Regions from separate parts of the Homo sapiens genome. Here regions 2 and 3 are each linked to region 1. The links are contacts of gene promoters, found by promoter capture Hi-C in blood cells and fetal thymus (Javierre and others, 2016). All regions are on one chromosome and are shown on one strand. Each heading gives the region's core, a stretch centred on a gene start or on the middle of the fragment in contact. The rest is flanking DNA. Distances are from core to core; before and after follow the strand shown. Region 1 holds the start of VAMP3 (vesicle associated membrane protein 3). Region 2 holds the start of C1orf174 (chromosome 1 open reading frame 174). Region 3 holds the start of MTOR (mechanistic target of rapamycin kinase).

The links. The method cuts DNA at HindIII sites, captures the fragments that hold promoters and counts their contacts. A CHiCAGO score of 5 or more calls a contact.
Region 2: a contact is called between the fragment with the promoter of C1orf174 here and the fragment with the promoter of VAMP3 in region 1, in 1 of 17 cell types (M0 macrophages). The highest score is 6.0, in M0 macrophages.
Region 3: the fragment with the promoter of MTOR here is called in contact with the fragment with the promoter of VAMP3 in region 1 in 2 of 17 cell types (total B cells and fetal thymus); the score reaches 6.9 in total B cells.

The regions. Positions count from the first base shown.
Region 1 is chr1:7,769,595-7,772,734 of GRCh38, reverse strand. It overlaps VAMP3 (vesicle associated membrane protein 3), which reads right to left and starts at 1,439. Exons shown (of 5, transcript NM_004781.4): 1 at 1,350-1,439. The coding sequence starts at 1,351. CAMTA1 (calmodulin binding transcription activator 1) reads right to left here. Exons shown (of 23, transcript NM_015215.4): 23 at 3,029-3,140. RefSeq lists silencers at 1,076-1,305, 1,270-1,512 and enhancers at 1,746-1,795, 1,539-2,235. The HindIII fragment of the contact is 4,711 bases long and covers 1-3,140 here.
Region 2 is chr1:3,898,679-3,901,818 of GRCh38, reverse strand. It overlaps C1orf174 (chromosome 1 open reading frame 174), which reads left to right and starts at 1,547. Exons shown (of 4, transcript NM_207356.3): 1 at 1,547-1,647. The coding sequence starts at 1,633. It overlaps LINC01134 (long intergenic non-protein coding RNA 1134), which reads right to left and starts at 1,415. Exons shown (of 4, transcript NR_024455.1): 1 at 1,188-1,415. RefSeq lists silencers at 467-646, 1,727-1,796 and enhancers at 847-1,106, 746-1,315, 1,316-1,884, 1,885-2,455. The HindIII fragment of the contact is 4,148 bases long and covers 1-2,847 here.
Region 3 is chr1:11,260,956-11,264,095 of GRCh38, reverse strand. It overlaps MTOR (mechanistic target of rapamycin kinase), which reads left to right and starts at 1,545. Exons shown (of 58, transcript NM_004958.4): 1 at 1,545-1,651. RefSeq lists an enhancer at 1,198-1,357 and a silencer at 1,778-1,827. The HindIII fragment of the contact is 974 bases long and covers 1,454-2,427 here.

The DNA of each region.
Region 1 (3,140 bases), core at 190-2,689:
TATTTTTTAGTAGAGACGGGGTTTCACCATGTTGGTCAAGCTGGTCTCGAACTCCTGACCTCAAGTGATCCGTCCACCTCGGCCTCCCAAAGTGCTGGGATTACAGGCATGAGCCACCGCGCCCGGCCCAGGAAGGTACTCATCTTTTAAAATCTTCATCAAAGGCTTTATTTCTCCCCATGCAGATCTTTCTTAACCACTCTGACTCTGAAGTCATTATTGGCTCCATTACTTGGAAAGTATCACTTTGGTTTTTCAGGTATAAAGTCCCGCCTCCTCGAATAGATCACAGGTTCCTGGGTCTTCTTACTCTCTTCTCTGTATCCTAGATAGCACCTAGCATGTGCCTTGGTATACAACAGTCTGATGGGCTGTTTGAACAGTCACTTTACATCTGTCATGTGTCAATGACCAGGGCTACAACAGATCTCATCACCGTCCTCACGGAGTTTAGTATCTGGTAGATAAGTAAGGACCATGCCGTGGCGCTAGACTCTTTCCATGCTTTTCCTCCTTTAACCCTCATAACTCTCTGAGGGGAATATTACTCCTATTTTACAAATGAGTAAAGTGAGGTTTAGAGAGTCAACACAGCTGGCTGCAGGACAGCTTGTTTTTAGATCAGGTCCTGTGTACCTTGGCTCTAGATCTTAACCACTGTGATCTATTGGCACAGCAGCCTCAGCAGGAACATTCGAGGGGGGTCCCCAGCTCCTGGAAGAAACCCGGGGCTTCCTCCGACGGTGAGCAATGAGCAGAATGGAGGTGGAAGAGGGAGTCCTTGTGATTCTTAACCATTAGCATTCTCTGAGTCTTACCACTGGAAGCAGGGGTTTGCAACGTGCTTTCGCTTAAGAGAGCGAAGGCCCACGGTTAAGTGATCTTTCCAGTGCAGATGCCCCTAGCTAGGCAAGGAGCTCTTCGGCCCACAGGGGCTCAGGACAGGGCCGAGGTCCTTTCTTTCGCAACTTCTGGGGCCCAGCGCAGCACCGGGCCGAGAGCGGGCGCTCCCGAACCAGGGCTGTCGTCCCCATTCCTCTCAGGGACGTCGGGGACTAGAAAGGGAAGGGGCGAGGAGCGGGCTGCGGGCGGGCAGCTCACTTCCTCCGGGAAGCGTCTCGCCGCCCCGCCCTTGCCCCTTCCGCGTCCGCCCGATGGCCGCGGGACCCGCCCGGCCCGTCTGCAGCCCGCGACCCAAGGGCCACCGCCCACCCCCAGGCCTCGGGATCCCCGCGCAGCCCCGGCCTGCGTCCGAGTGGCGGCCGGCGGCAACTGGGCAGTATGGCGGTCCCAGCGCGAGCTGCCGCCTGCGGGGCCCGAAGCCGCCCGCGTCGCGTAGCGTCACTCACATTTTGGCAGCTGCGGCGGCGGCAGCGGCGACGAGAGAGGGTCAGCAGAGAAGCGAAGTTGGGACCGGAGGCCAGGGAGATGGGTGGGACGGCGCGGCGCGGGGCAAAGACGTCACTAGGCGGAGCCGGGGGAGTGGGCGGGGCGAAGAGGGGGCGCGCCGGAAGTGGGCGGGGGCGTCGTGGGTGGGTGCGTCCAGGGCGGGGTCAGAGCGAGACGTCCCCTCCCCGGACGAGGTCACTTGGGAACTTGAGGGCCACAGGGGTCCCAGGGCGGTCCGGGCTCTGAAACGCAGAACGCAGGTCAATACAGCTCCCTGTCCGCACCGCCGTCCGCGCTGGCGCTTGGGGACGTGGTCTGTAAACGTGGTGCATTAGCCACTGGCGAGGGACTGCGTGGATAAGTGAGGGTGGGGGCAATTCATGTTATTCTGGGCTCGGGACCATTTCTAACAGTATTAGAGACAGATGACTGGCTTCTGCTGAGTGTTCCAGAGTAACCTAGTGATCCTGAGGGCACCATGTTTCTCTAAAGTAGTTGAAATAGGAAGTCCATTTCGGGTATTTGTCACATGGTGTTGGGTGAGGTTCCCGCTCATGTTTTCATCGGTGACACAAATATTTGTCACTGCAGATCATATTATAATCTGCTTACGAGAGCCTTGGCATCAAGGCTGTAGTTCCTTTATTTCTGTATTTTCAGGCCCTAGCACAGAATAGGTCCTCAGGTTTTGGTCGAAGGGAGGGAAGCACAAATCTGAACGCAGTGAGTTACCTTGTATATATTTGTTACTGAAATATTCCTACCAACATAGTTACCTACACCAAAAAATAAAACACTAATAGGTCATTGGTGGGTCTCTTAGATGAGAAGTGAAAAATACAGTACTTAAATACTATGCTGTTTTTTCCAACTCTAAATAGAATACTTTGAAAAGGGAAACGTTAGTATATATCGAATAAACGAGTGTCACAAAGGCGGTGGGATTTGAGCTGGGTACTAGTGGAAAAGAACTTTCCAAGTAAGGGTTGGGCAAACACCATGAACAAAGACAGCAGTGAAAATGGACGCAGTGTGCACAGACCACCTAGAGGGTGCAGGTTGGGTACAAGTGAAAAGAAGACTGAATAAAGAGGATAAACAAACAAGAAAAATGTCATTTAATTGTAGTGGGCCCTGGAAACCATTGACTTACGGACGTGGGAGATCCATGATGCAAAATTTCTCTGGCAGTAGTGGCCAGATGGATTAGATGGAAGAGGGAGCACTAGGGAGATAAGGAGAGGCTCTGCAGTGAACGGGAAGGGAGCGGCGATGACACAATACTCAGAAAGGACGACGTTCGTAATCTGCTGGAAAATGCCTTTTAGAAGACTTTAGAGGATTGTAACTGAAAAGGTGAATTAAATTAATGTCTTTATCTTTCAAATAATTGCACTGCCTTACACAAATGATTGACATGTTGAGAGGTGCCTGGAAAGATAGGGGAAAAGCTCTCTGAATGGTGGCTGGAAGACATTTTTTCTTTCATGGACCTAGCTGAAACAATGTAACATTCAATGTCAAAACATTACATCTGGATCAGAAGGAAATCCTTGACATTATTACATATGTTTTGAAACATGTGCCCATCACCTTAGATTTCACTACCCGGTCATATTAAAGCAAAACACACACGTAGTATGGGGAAATTTTCTTCATTTTTAATTTACAGCAGAAAGAATATAAAGCATTCAGAAAACATTTTCCATATTTTAAGGGCAATTCAAAACATTTTGCATGGTTTCCAGCAG
Region 2 (3,140 bases), core at 298-2,797, 3.9 Mb after region 1:
CGGATTATTTGAGGTCAGGAGTTCGAGACCAGCCTGACCAACATGATGAAACCCCATCTCTACTAAAAATACAAAAATTAGCCAGGTGTGGTGGCGCCTGCCTGTAATCCCAGCTACTCAGGAGGCTGAGGCAGGAGAATGGCTTGAGCCCATGAGGCGGAGGTTGCAGTGAGCTGAGATCGCGCCACTGCACTCCAGCCTGGGTGACAGAGCGAGACTCCGTCTCAAAAAACAAACAAACAAACAAAAAAACCCACAACAGAACAGTGGTCCTCAGCTTTACAAACACCTCCCTCAGCGGCGGCCAAAGAGGACGCATCACAGCAGCCCAGGCCTGCTAGGGGCGTGTTTGCTGGAGGAGGCGTGGCCGCCGTGTGTCCATCCAGACCTGATAGGGCGCGGCCATTGGAGGAGGCGTGGCCGCTGCGGGTCCACCCAGGCCTGCTAGGGGCGTGGCCATTGGAAAAGGCGTGGCCCCTGCGAGTCCACGTTGGCCCCGGAGAGTAACGGGACGGCGGAGGGGTCATTTCCCGCCTTGCACGTAACGGGGGACGAAAACCGGCCCCCAGCCCGACGCCGGACCCTGGCCTCCTGGGCCCACCGACGGCCTCCACTAAGGCCCCCTCCCGCCCGCAACGTGGGGGACAGCTGAGGCCACTTCCCGGGCGGGCCACCCCAACCCAAAGCGGCATGTCGCGGGGCAGCACAGCCTGCGACAAGCGCGCAAAGCTCCCCAGCGGGACCGCAGCACGGGCAGGCCTGGGAGTCCCTCGCGCTGCTCAAGGCCGCTAACCGGCACTCAGAAACCAGCGCTCTGCGGCACTGGAGAAAGCACTTCCCGCCCTCCTGCAGGCTGTTAGCCAGGGGATGCAAGGGGAGGGGCCCCTCACGGACGTCCCGCCCGCCCCTCTCAAACATGGCGGCCACAGGCGCACCAAAGGAAGAGCCCCTCACAAACATGGCCGTCCGCCCCTCTCATACATGGCGCCAAAGAGGCTTCAAGGGAAGCGCCCCTCACGAACATGGTTGCCTGCCCCTCTCAAACATAGCGGCCACAGGCGCACCAAGAGAAGCGCCCCTTACAAACATGGCCGTCTGCCCCTCTCAAACATGGTGGCCAAAGAGGCTTCAAGGGAAGAGCCCCTCAAGAACATGGTTGCTCCCCCCTCAAGAACATAGTTGCCCACCTCGCTCAAACATGGCGGCCACAGGTGCACCAAGGGAAGCGCCGTTCACGAACATGGCCGTCTGCCCCTTTCAAATATGGCGAACACAGAAGCTACAAAAAAAGCACCCCCCGCAAACATAATCTCTCAGGCCTGCCACGGGCGTGGGAAACATAGCGGCTACAGGGGTGCCAAGGGACGCGCCCTCATGAACATGGCCGGCCACAGGCCGACTTCCTGCTCCAGTGTCCCACCACTGGCCCAAGGCCTGTGACCTTCGCCCGCCGCTTACGAAAGAGCCAACACGGGGGGGGGGGGGGGGGGAATCACATGACGAGGGTGCTGCACTGTGATTGGCTGTGCTGACGTCGGACGCCGCCGCGGCGCGCTCTGCAGACTCCGGGTCGCCGCTCCGCCGGGACGCGTTGGCCGGGGCGCGCGGTGCTTGGCTGCGGTGCTCACACTCATGAGGAGCCGGAAGGTGAGGGCTGGGTCCCGGCAGCAGCTGCGCCGGGCAGGGCGGGGACTCTGGGTCACCTGCTGTCTGGAGAACCGGGGCGGGGTCACGGGGTGCCTGTGGCCTAGGAGCGGCCTCCGCTTGGGCCTCGCCCCCGGCAGTAGTTGGGGGGCTCCAGGCCACGCTCCCGGGAGAAGGAGGGCTGCCAGGTCACGCCCCTGTGAAAAGGGGGCTCCGGGCCACGCCCTCGGAAGAAGTGGAGCTCACAGGTCACGTCCCCGGGAGAAGGGGGCTCCCAGGTTACCCACCCCCGCAGAATGGGGCCTCTGGGCCACACCCCCGAGAGAAGGGGAGCTCCCAGGCCATGCCCGCGGGAGAAGGGGGGCTCCGGTCCACGCCCTCGGGAGAAGTGGAGCTCACAGTTCACGTCCTGGGCAACAGGGGGCTCCCAGGTCACGCCCCCTTGAAGGGAGGTTTCGGGCCACTTTCCTAGGAAGGTGGGGCACCCTCTCCAGAACTGGTTTCAACTCCTGGTAGTGCTAGATGCTGCAGAGCTGAGTTTGTGCCCCTCAACTGCTGCCACTCCAATGGACGTCACACAGCAAGTGACCTCAGCTTGGCCCCATCTACTGAATGTGCTAAAAGTGGGGTGATGAGGGATCCACCAAGAGGGTGGTGAGGATTGAAGGGGGGTGCCAGTGTCTGGCAAGGGGCAAGTGCTCATTGCGTGGGTGTAACAGTTAAGGCGAAGGACCCTTTTCACAGTGGACCCGGCGCGGGTCCCGGTCCACTTGGGAGGCTCTGAGCTGCATGGAGGCTCTCCTGGTTTGTTCAAATGGAGTGGCCACTTGTGAATTCCAACTCCTTTTACTATTTTTATCTTTGAACCAAAACTTGTCTCCTGTAGGCACATATACTTGGATCTTTTTTAAAATGCAGTCTGGTAGTTTCTGCCTTTTGATTGAATTGTTTAGCCCATGCACATTTAATATTATTGATACACTGTAGTTAGGTTTACATTTGCCATTTTACTTTTTCTTTTCTTTATACAAGTCTGTCTTTTTCTTCCCCTGTTCCTTCTTTAAGTGGATTAAAGTGAATATTTCCTAATGTAGCATTTTAATTTAATGATTTTTTTTCCACAACTTTTTTGGGTTTTTTCCAGTGCTTTATGTTTTACCGTATACAGCTTAATCTTCATATTCTCCATATACATCTTAAGCTTCAGATTTGTACTAGGTTAATTCCAAGTGATACAGAAATGTTACTCTTATATGGTTATTTTTGTGGTATTTTGTTATATGTATTACATCTGATAATGTTACAAACTCAACAGTACTGTGTTATCATTATTACTTTCTGTCTGTGGTCATTTCCTTAGCCAGCAGGGGTTTGCTTTCACCCACTTTGTTTTGTTATTGGCAAATATAGTACATGTCTGTATATATTATACACATATTACTGTATACAATTGCTTTTTAAATTAAGAGAAGGAGGTAGAGGAATAGGCATTTAAA
Region 3 (3,140 bases), core at 296-2,795, 3.5 Mb before region 1:
TTTTTTTTTTGAGATGGAGTCTCGCACTGTCACCCCAGCTGGAGCGCAGTGGCGCGATCTCGGCTCACTGCAACCTCCGCCTGCTGGCTTCAAGGGATTTTCCTATCTCAGCCTCCTGAGTAGCTGGCATTACAGGCACCTGCCACCACGCCTACCTTTTTTTTTTTTTTTTTGTATTTTTAGTAAAGACGGGGTTTCACTATGTTGGTCAAGCTGGTCTCAAACTCCTGACCTCATGATCCGCCCGCCTCGGCCTCCCAAAGTGCTGGGATTACAGGTGTGAGCCACCGCGCCCAAACGAATGCATCATATTTTATTGGACTCCTACTTTGAAATATTTAGGAATTTTCAGTGTTTACTATGACAAATAGCACTGTGATTAAAAAAAAATGTAGTCAAATCCACTTTTGCTGTTGATTTTTTTTTTTTTAATCTGTAGAGACATCGTCTCGCTATGTTGCCCAGGCTGGTCTGGAACTCCTGGCCTCAAGCGATCCTCCTGCTTTGGCCTCCCAAAGTGCGTGGGCCACCGTGACCAGCAGTTATTTATTTTCTTTGGTTGTGTGTGTGTGTGTGTGTGTGTGTGTGTGTGTGTGTGTGTATGTATGTATTGAGACGGAGCTTGCTCTGTTGCCCAGGCTAGAGTGCAGTGGCACGATCTCGGTGCATGCAACCTTCACCTCCCGGGTTCAGGCGATACTCGTGCCTCAGCCTCCCGAGTATCTGGGATTACAGGCGTGAGCCACCATGCCCAGCTAATTTTTGTATTTTCAGTAGAGACGGGGGGTGCGGGTGGGGGAATTTCACCATGTTGACCAGGCTGGTCTCGACTCCTGACCTACGGTGATCCGCCTGCCTCGGTCTCCCAAAGTGCTGGAATTATGGGCGTGAGCCACCGCGCCGGGCCAGCTATTGATTTTTTGAAAGGATTTTTAAAAAATAATGTTGCTTTGAAAATTTTTATTTATGACTAGCTCTTTTGGTTAAAACTTGGCTATGGTTTCTCTGGAGTGATCCTGAGTTGGATAATTTTGGGAAAGTTAGAGAATCTAATTAAAAACATTTTCAAATGCTTATTAATTGTAACAAAAGAGATATCACAGGATCCATAAAGAGCGCTAGCCCGAAACGTCTTTTGATGCAGTAATTCCTGGGCACCGGCATCGCTCACATTCTCCTCTCAGAATTACACCGGGAGGGGTCGCGAACCTCTGCTAGCCGCTCTCGCTGCGATCCGGAGATACCCAGACACCGGACTCCTTGAGTTCACAGCCCGGATGCAGAAGGGAATCCTAGCAGCGCCGTACCGGATGTGTGAGTGGAAGTGACTGAGGTGAACTCACGACCGATTGGTTCTCCCGAGTGGACCCAAGCCTGTTTTCACCTGCCACTGGCCGCGTGGTTTGTCTATTTGAACAGTCCCCGCCCCCTGGAGAAGCCGGGTCCTGAAGCTTCTCTTCTTCATTACTATTGGCCTGTTTTTCAGTCCATCTTCTCCCTATACCTGTCGATTGGTCCTCAGGGCTGGGAACCCTCCTTCCCTCGCTCCCGGCTTAGAGGACAGCGGGGAAGGCGGGCGGTGGGGCAGGGGGCCTGAAGCGGCGGTACCGGTGCTGGCGGCGGCAGCTGAGGCCTTGGCCGAAGCCGCGCGGTGAGTCTAGGGCCTGGCACGACCCCTCTAGGGCGGCGTAATGTCCAGACCCACGGCCAGCCTGCCCGTGGGGGGGCCAGGGGAAGCCGCCCGTCTGGGACGTGGGGTCCCCACATTGCCGGCCCCACGACCTGGGCACCGTCTGAGGCCTTGACTCCCACCCCTCGAGGCAACGCCCACCTCCCCGGGACCCCCAAGAGACCCCTGGACCCTTCGGCCCGCGGTACGTCCGCCCGAAGGCCGGCCCATCAGCTCTGGTATTGCCCTTTGGGTCTTTTGCCTGTCACAGCCACCCTTTCTTTTGAGCCACGTATAAAAATTGTGTATCTCTGCCCCAGGGAACACTAGCGTCCGTGTCAGCCCCTTGTCCTCCACTGTGGACACCTCTCAGAGATCCAGTCCCCGAAACTGAGCTTGGTTACATCGTTGGGGTACATCTTCTCTCCCTCTCCCCCAGCCCCATCCCTGTTTCCCCCATCCAATCTTAACTTCCTTAAGCCCTATCAACACCATTAGGATATTTGACTTCAGATATCCTAAGTTTAATTGAATTCAGTCTGGAGCAGATGGCCTGTGGGCCTCAGATCATATAAAGATACACTGGTTCTTTCCTGAGAATAGAAATCCCTTGCCAGCCACCTTCCCCCCTTTCGGACGCACACACATACACACAAACTGGAGTAGTTTTCTTAGCAGGGATTCTTAAGTTTCTTCTCCCCTAAAGGATGACATTTCTTTCTGCAGTCTTCTTCTTGGCAGTGGAGTATTTGAAAGCTTTACAAAACCAATTATTCCCAGGTTTTTCCTCTGTGCCTTACAAATTCTTTCAAAAATAAGAATTTTGAGAAATTGGTTTTGTAGCATAAGCTGAACATACTTGGGATAGGTGTATGTTACACCCATGGCAGTGTGGGCATAATTGAGGAATGAGGGAATGAGCTCAGGAACTAATTGGTGTTTTTTGTTTTGTTTTGAGACGGAGTTTCGCTCTGTCGCCCAGGCTGGAGTGCAGTGGCTCGATCTCTGCTCACTGCAAGCTCCGCCTCCCGGGTTCCCGCCATTCTCCTGCCTCAGCCTCCCGAGTAGCTGGGACTACAGGCGCCCGCCACCATACGGCTAATTTTTTTTTTTTTTTGTATTTTTAGTAGAGGCGGGATTTCACCGTGTTGGCCAGGATGGTCTCGATTTCCTGACCTCGTGATCCGCCCGCCTCGGCCTCCCAAACCCGGCCAGGAACTAATTACTTTCTTTTAGCTTACATTTGAAGAGCTAGTCCCCTGTAGAACTGCGTTGTTCAGTACAAGAACCACCAGCCACATGTGGCTGTGGAGCACTTGAAATGTGACTAGTCCAGGCCGGGCATGGTGGCTCACACCTGTAATCCCAGCACTTTGGGAGGCCAAGGCGGGCAGATCACCTGAGGTCAGGAATTTGAGACCAGCCTGGCCAACATAATAAAACCCCATCTCTACTAAAAACACACAAAAAT